Linked DNA regions of Homo sapiens: regions 1 and 3 are each linked to region 2. The links are contacts of gene promoters, found by promoter capture Hi-C in human tissues and cell types (Jung and others, 2019). All regions are on one chromosome and are shown on one strand. The core of a region is centred on a gene start or on the middle of the fragment in contact, and the rest is flanking DNA. Distances in the headings are between cores, read along the strand shown.

Evidence for each region. The method cuts DNA at HindIII sites, captures the fragments that hold promoters and counts their contacts. A contact is called where the count stands out against the background at its distance.
Region 1: a fragment that was not itself captured here is called in contact with the fragment with the promoter of UFL1 in region 2 in 2 of the 25 tissues and cell types used here (dorsolateral prefrontal cortex and hippocampus).
Region 3: a fragment that was not itself captured here is called in contact with the fragment with the promoter of UFL1 in region 2 in 2 of the 25 tissues and cell types used here (dorsolateral prefrontal cortex and hippocampus).

Annotation. Positions count from the first base shown.
Region 1 is chr6:96,009,226-96,011,925 of GRCh38, forward strand. The region is part of intron 1 of LOC107986626 (a long non-coding RNA gene); the gene reads right to left. Among named protein-coding and RNA genes, the nearest start is that of FUT9, 5.4 kb to the right of the region's middle. The HindIII fragment of the contact is 8,220 bases long and covers 1-2,700 here.
Region 2 is chr6:96,520,444-96,523,143 of GRCh38, forward strand. It overlaps UFL1 (UFM1 specific ligase 1), which reads left to right and starts at 1,363. Exons shown (of 19, transcript NM_015323.5): 1 at 1,363-1,507. The coding sequence starts at 1,431. UFL1-AS1 (UFL1 antisense RNA 1) reads right to left here and starts at 1,271. Exons shown (of 4, transcript XR_007059687.1): 1 at 1-1,271. RefSeq lists enhancers at 1-79, 80-951, 952-1,823, 968-1,157, 1,824-2,695. The HindIII fragment of the contact is 7,421 bases long and covers 1-2,700 here.
Region 3 is chr6:96,147,569-96,150,268 of GRCh38, forward strand. All of the region lies in intron 2 of FUT9 (fucosyltransferase 9), which reads left to right. Among named protein-coding and RNA genes, the nearest start is that of FUT9, 130 kb to the left of the region's middle. The HindIII fragment of the contact is 3,489 bases long and covers 1-2,700 here.

The DNA.
Region 1 (2,700 bases), core at 136-2,635, 510 kb before region 2:
TTGGTCTTAGGTATTCTCTGAATTTACAAATTGATTTTAATTTTTGTAGGATGTTAAAGATAATACAAAAGAACAGAGGGCCTAAAAGAGCAATAATAAAAACCCCAAGGAGAAGGGATAAAAGATGAGAATACAATATTAATAAATTAACATAAGAAGTTTATTATTTAAGAAAATGATAAGAAGACTTATATTACTATCACAAGCATAGTCATCTTATGAATGCTGATAAACACAACAGATAACATTTATGAAAGACTCACTCTATGCCAGGCATTCTTCCTAAAGATTTGGTATGCAATGACTCTTTTAATCATTGAAAAAATGATCCTATAAAGTAGATACTAATATTGCACTTCCATTTTATAGATAAGGGAAGTGACTAAGTATGTTAATAGATTTTCTAATACAGTAACATTCCTACCTTTTTGGAAAAAAAGAAAAATACACTTAGTGTTGATACAGTAATGTGCTATTGAGGTTCATTTGTTAATATTTTAATTAGGATTTTTGCACTGACGCTGTTAAGTGAGATTGGCCTGAAAAGTGTATTGACATTTAATATTCAAAACTTTACTTATATTTTATAAAGTATTAAGACTTATCAATGGTGGGCTTCATGCTAGCTCCTTGAATATCTTATAATTGCTGCTGTAGGAATGCTGGTGATATATAATCTTCTACACAGATGTTCATAATTGCTTTGTTTTCATAGCAAGGTGTCTGTTCTGTGATCACCTTAAAATATCCTTCTTTATCTTGTTTAACATGTTTTAGGCTTTATGCCACCTTATCTCTGACTAAGATTGCAACGCCTGCTTACTCTTTGTTTCCATTTCCCTGATAAATGTTTGTTCATCTTTTTATTTTTTAAGTGTTCTGAGTTTTCTTGCGGTAGATATAAAACACAGAACTCTATTTTCAGTGATAAAGTATAAAAATCTTTATTTTTGTCTATAAAACAGGAGATTATTTACATTTATTGATATAATGGAAATACTTACTTTTGGTTCTGACATATTGTGTTATGTTTTCACTTGTTATTTTGTAAAACTCCTTCATTTTGTGTTCTGTTTTATTTTTTCTGTGTGTGTGTGTGTGTGTGTGTGTGTGTGTGTTTGAGACAAGGTCTTGCTTTGTCACTCAGGTTGAAGTTAAGTGAATCATGGCTCACTGCAGCCTTAATCTCCCAGGCTCAAGCTATCCTCCTGCCTCAGCCCCTCGAAGTAGCTGGGACTACAGGAGTGTGCCACCACGCACGGCTAATTTTTGTGTTTTTTTGTAGAGTTAGGGCTTCACCATGTCACCAGGCTAGTCTCAAACTCCTGGGCTCAAACGATCTGCCCGCCTCAGCCTCCAAAAGTGCTAGAATTACAGGTGTTAGCTACCACGCCCAGCGTATATATGTATTCTTAATATTTACAAAGATTTTCATTTTGTTCTGTGTTACTTTTGTAATTATTTATCTGCATTGCTCTATATTTTAGTTAAAGTAAGAAATGTTTCTGTTAGTTTGTTAAAGTAGGTAATGATAAAAATTAGTGTTTCTTATTCCTCCATGCCTTCCTGCTTGACTAGATAATTTATCAAATAATTTGGATTAAATTTCATCTTTGTGTTGCTAAATGTCATGCTACTTATTTGTTCTTTTAAGTGGTTTTGTTGGACTCTCAGCCATTAGACAATTGATGCCATTATATCTCATATCATTTTTATATTGTCAGAGTCTATTTTTCCTATAAGGTTTATATTGCATTATACTGCTTTAATTCTCATATTCTAACATTGTAGATCAGTAGATAAATACACTGAATGTATTAACTTGAAAATCAGTCCTTGATTCAGCATGTCTCTTTTATTTATTTATTAGAAAGCTGAATTTCATTCATTATTCTAGTGATTTCCTGAAGGTGGTTTCATAAGAATAATAGTCCCTGAGTTCTTGCATCTTCACCATTGTTTGTCTATTCCCATTGTACTTGAAAAACCATTTAGCTAAAAAGAAAAAGAAAACCTTAGTTTTATTTTATTTTCTTTGGTTTCTTGTAAGCTTTGTTGCACTGATATTGAATGGCTCGATTCCACTAAAGTTGCAGTGAAGACTTCTGAGGCCAGTATCAGTATTTTTCTTTATAAGCTACTGATTGCTTTGCCTGCATGCCTAAAAAAATTCTTTTTTAAATTTAAATTCTAGTTACTGTACTAGGACACATCTCAATGTCAATGATTCTGGGGCAATTTTTCCTGGTAATCATTGTTTCTTTTCAAAGTGAAATATCAAGTCATCTTTCATTTGAAGAATGTTTCTTTCTTTAATAATATATTGACATATTTATTTTCCCATCACTTATTTCTTTTCTCTAATTATGTATCTATTGGATTACCATTCCCTATCTTCTCCATCTTTTGTATTCTCTCTAATCCTGTCTATTTTTTCTTTACTTGCATTTCATTTTGTTAGCCTTCCTTATTTCTGTCTCTTCTTTTCCTTGCTGTGTCTATCTCAGTGTCCATTTTATCTTGTAATTCTTCCATTTATAGTCTTAATTCGTGAAGGTATTTTTTTTCCTCACTTCTTTTCTGAGTTCCCCCAGCTATGTGTCACCAGCTCCTATTGTCTCTCATCATCCCTTCCCAAGTTCTTGCATTTGTACCTTGTAGTTTTCATTTATAAAAGCAATTCCTTCATTGTGCCTTCTT
Region 2 (2,700 bases), core at 113-2,612:
CTATCTCACTCTGTGACTAACCTCCTGGGAATGCAGCCCAGTAGGTTTCAGCCTTATTTTACCCAGCCCCTATTCAAGATGGAGTTGCTCTAGTTCAAACGCCTCTGACAACTAGTCACCCTGCTGTGCTATCAAATACTTGATATTATTCATTCTTTCTAACTGGAATAATATTTTTTAAATAGTAAAGAGTGAGATACATGAACTCCAAATATCTGAGACAGGTCACAATCAACTCAGAAAGTTTATTTAGCCAAAGTTAAGAACTTGCATCCATGACATGGCACAGATCCTGACAACATGCGCCCAAGGTGGCTGGGGCACAGCTTGGTTTTACACATTTTAGGGAGACATGGGGCAGCAATCAATATATGTAAGATAAACATTGGTCTGATCTGGAAAAGCGGGGCAACTCCAAGTGGGGAGGAAGTTCCAAGTCATAGGTAGATAACAGACAGTTGCATTCTCTTATGAGCCTCTCCAAATGAGGCAATCAGACATGCATTTATCTCAGTGAGCAGAGGGGTGACTTTGAATAGAATGGGAGGCAGGATTCCCTAAGCAGTTCCCAGTATGACTTTTCCCTTTAGCTTAGTGATTTGGGGGTCCCATGATTTATTTTCAATTCATAAGATATAAAAAAGATATAAAAAAGAAAGGTACACCTGAGTAAATATCTACTCAACAGGGAAGCAGGATACATGTTCTCTTTGCTTTCCCTGTTTCCTTGATAGCCATGCACCTTATGTTTATATTCCTCATTATTTGATGAAGTTAATCATTGCAATAAGAGAAATACGAAAGACTCTAGAACTCTAGACACGAAAGCAATTATACAGCCTTTATGACACGCAAATTTATTCACTCTGTAAAAAAAAAGTAATTACTTTCGGTAGGGTCTCCCATGTATCTTCCAAAAGGCAGACTGCTCTGGGTGCATGTAAAAATTAACACGATACCCTATACAAAAGGGAATGCTCAGAGTTAACAGCTAGAGAAGAGAGGCGCCAATCTTAGACACAGGCTTATTCCTCCGCACCCTCCCCCAAAACAAATGGAGGACAGAAGAAAAAAGAAAAGTAGTTAATACAACTATTACTCTACGGAAATATTAGGGGTAGCGCAAACAAAGTTCTGACACTAAACTTTACTGAGCCCTGCATCCTGCCCACGACCCCCCCAGAAACACCTACGCACCACTCTCCTAGCCGCCGCAGCCCCGCCAGTCTCGCCGGGAGGAACCCCCAGCGCCGCGGTACAACCACGGCACTTCCGCCCGCCCCCCGCGCCTCGGGCGCAAGCGTTTGGTGTGTCTGCGTCGGGGGCGGAGCCTCTTGTCCCTCTGCGCGGCCCGTTCCGCCTCTCTTCTCCCACCGCCTGTCGGCTGACGTGTCTGCAGTTCCTCCGCGTCTACTGCGAGTCAGGCCGTGATGGCGGACGCCTGGGAAGAGATTAGGCGGTTGGCGGCCGACTTCCAGCGGGCGCAGTTCGCCGAGGCCACGCAGAGGTGCCCGACCCTCCCTCTCCTTTGTGGAGCCCAAATTAGGCCGTGGGCGGACACGCCTGTATCTGGGACTTTAGACCCGCGGCCCTGCATCCCGGGTCTTCTCGCTGCTTGTCACCATTCTCTCCTCCTCCCTCTGTCCCGAGCCTGGATCGCAGTTCCAAGTCCAAGGCTCGGCGGGAAAGTCCTCAGCCTAGGACGCCCTGGAGCCCCCCAGCCCAGCTGCAGCGAAATGCTGGCGCGCCCCGCCCCACCATGGACGGGGCCGGTGATTTCGAGCTGCCTTTATTGAGCATTTCTTTGACCCTCCCTCACCCACCAACCACCAAATCACTGTGACATCTTGGCTATTATACACTTCCTGATCTAGAATGAGCTCGAAAGGAGAGGCTAACCCCCGCCCCCAGTACAGTACTTGGCAAATAGTATGTTGATCCTTAAAACTTCTTGCCCTTTTATCTCTCGTAACAGACCTAGGGCTAGACCCCTGACCCCATCTGTTATTCAGGGCACTGACATTTTCTACAAGCCCACTAACCTTTGGAGGATGTGTCCAGAGGAGCCTAACTCTGCTTTTTAAAAATAACGCTAATAGAAGCCTTTCTATTCTTTGACTACTTCCTACCTGCGATGTTTTATTCCTTTTGAGCCGGAAGACAGCAATCCCCTTATGCTGTATTTTCTACCACTGATAGCAAACTCGTAACTGCATGGGTAACTAACGTGGGTAAAAGTTATGGTTTCACTAGGCCACATCCCCTGCCTGCTTGCAGACCATGTGTGTAAGTGAGGCAATTATGCACTTAATTTAAAAGAAAATTCTGATTAAACTGGAAATTAGGGCATTTTTTGTTTTGTTTTGTTTTGTTTTTTCTTTTTTCCTACCTAAATAAATGTCTTCAATTTTCCCTTCAGATTTGAAGATTGGAAGCAGGCCTGTAAGAGACAACAGACTTGAAATTTGTGATGGGATGATGTGTACCAATTAAATAAATGATTTAAGCATATGTAAACCTACTTACTCTGAAAGGTTTTTTTTTAACTTATTGAATCAGTTAGTGAAAAATACAGATATTGTGATGTAGAAGTTAGTGACTAAACAAACTTTTTAAAAGCCTGTTTTCATACATTGTATTAATTTTATTGAGCGCCAATGTCTCAAGTGGACTTTTGAAACAACTTTTTTTCTTTCCCTC
Region 3 (2,700 bases), core at 164-2,663, 370 kb before region 2:
CTTAAGCTTCAGGATACTTATAACTGTAGTTATTAAACCCAAAGAGAGAAGTAAGTCTTCTTCATATATCTAGAAGCAATGTGAACATTTGCCACTAGTAGGATCTAGAGTGAAGATTTCTTAACTCTTCATCCTTTCTGTGCTAATTGAATGATGAAGACCCTAGGAGTTTTTCAAAAAATCTCATACAGAGTGCTAACACATCAGTTGATGACATCCAGCCATGACGGATTCAGGCTTGCATAAATAATCTGCAGGAGTTCTTTGAATATATCACAGCCACACTAGATAAAAGATGATCTGGGACTACGATATAGTTAATATTTCAGAAAAAAAAGTGCATTTGATATGTTTCTGCATCAGAGATAAAGGTAAAAGAACCACCGAACATGGGATAAAGAGTACCGAAGCGAAAATTAGTTTTAGAAACACTACAAAGCAAAGACTTTAAAAGCAACTTTTATGTTGGAAAGAAAAAAAAAATATTGAAACTGGGCAGCCCATGTGCAATTAATTGAAGTCCAGTCCTTCCTTAAAAACGCTTTCTAACACACCAAATATCTCACAAAGCTGATGGTGACTAAAAGTCTTTCCAACAGTTTAGTGCAATAGACTTATCACTAAGCTTGGAATGTAAAAATCTAAGTTCTAGCTGATTAAATGATCTTGAGTAATTAGCACTCAGGGTCTCAGATTCCAACCTACAGAATAGGAAATTGGGTCTAGAAAGATTGCCAAAGTCCCTCCTATCTCCACAACTATTTGATTCTAACAGCTCCACGTAGCTCTGGGGAATTTAATCATCAAGCAAGTTTCTCCATTAAGGTGGATAATTAAAATGAGGGAGTACTCTGTAATGCATCAAAACAGATTCAGATTGCTGGCTTTTTCAAATTTACAGTTTCGCTTTCAGTAAAAATTACATGGTATAATCAGTCGAGCTGTGGAAATGGGCTCTGAAGGCTATTGATTCCTGAGTTCTTGATACTTTCATTGACCCTATCAAAACACTTAAATGTTCCAAAGCCTGGAGTGGCCCTGGAGAAGCCCAAGTTGTAACAATTTTGTACTGCCTGAGGTTTATATTACTCCAGAGAGTATGTATTTTGTAATAGGGTTGAAAAGACAGTAAAATTTTTAAAAAGTGGCCACTCCTATAGTAGTGTAGATACATGAACATTTAACCAAATGTATTGCCTTTATTCTGAGTCTGTACATGCGCAGAAATCCCAGCAAAATGTTCTCTAACTAGTCTTATGTGACCCTGGCTTAAAATGTGGGCTGTTAGACTTTTAACTACTTGAGGCCAGGCACAGTGGTTCACATTTGCAATCCCAGCACTTTGGGAGGCAGAGGTGGGCAGATCACCTGAGGTCAGGAGTTCGAGACCAGCTTGGCCAATATGGTGAAACCTTGTCTCTAACTAAAAATACAAAAATTAGCCAGGTGTGGTGCCATGTGCCTGTAATCCCAGCTACTCAGGAGGCTGAGGCAGGAGAACTGCTTGAACTCGGGAAGTGGAGGTTGCAGTGAGCCGTGAGCCAAGATTCTGCCACTGTACCGCAGCCTGGGCAACACAGTGAGACTCCAAAAAAAAAAAAATTTTTTTTGAACTACTTGAAAATAATAGACTGCTTTTATTATGTACAGAGTCAGTATTCCATGCAATTTTGTTGAATTAAATTTAATTCTTCTATCACCAGAGAGCATTTTTTTTAAATGAAGAACATGATTACTAATTTAGATGACATGTAACCAAGTTTAAGGCAGACAAAAAAAAAAGTCTCTATTAGAAACTACAATGGAACATTATGGGGATAAAATGAAAATATTAACTTAAAATTCATTCCTCCATCCCTTTTAGCCCAAATGAGTGAATAATTTTAAAACCTGAAACAAATGTTTTCTCAGTATAACCCTTCTAGAGAAGTACTGCAATTTCACTAAATCACAGAACTCCCATTGCCTTAGATCAGGAGTGTGTATATTATCAGCATCAAACAAAACTCAATTATTTGTAATTGTCAGCAGAGCTGAGAATAAACCTTATTGAAGCATGAACACTGTGAGAAAAAATATATCTGTGCATTCCATCAAAAGCAAGCATTTCTTTGCCTGAATTTTTAAAAATTGTTTTATTTATAATTATTGTAGATATATAATAGTTGTACATATTTATGTATATGTGATGTTTGGATACAGTATACAGTGTGTAATGATCAAATCAGGGTAATTGAGGTATCCATCACCTTAAGCTTTTATCATTTCTTTGTGTTAGGAACATTTCAATTCCACTCTTTTAGTTATTTTGAAATATACAATAAGTTATTGTTAACTATAGTCACCCTATTGTGCCACCAAACACTAGATTTTACTCTATCTAATTGTATTTTCATACTCATTAACCCTCCCCTCTTTACCCCCCTTCTCCATTACCCTTCCCAGCCTGTGGTAACCATCATTCTATTCTCTATAATTTGTAATAATTATACTTCTAGAGCAAAAGATAAACTCTGCCTACCTGGGTCTTGATTCTCTTAGGACGGATAAGTCATGTCCAAGAATAGAATACAAAAAGAGAAAATGGTGTCAGTAGTATGGTGTTATACTGGTGTGCTATACTAAATGGTGTCTGTTTCAGGTAAAATGACATTAGAATTCAGAATGAAGGAGTGATTCCAGCTGGAGCAATTAGGAATC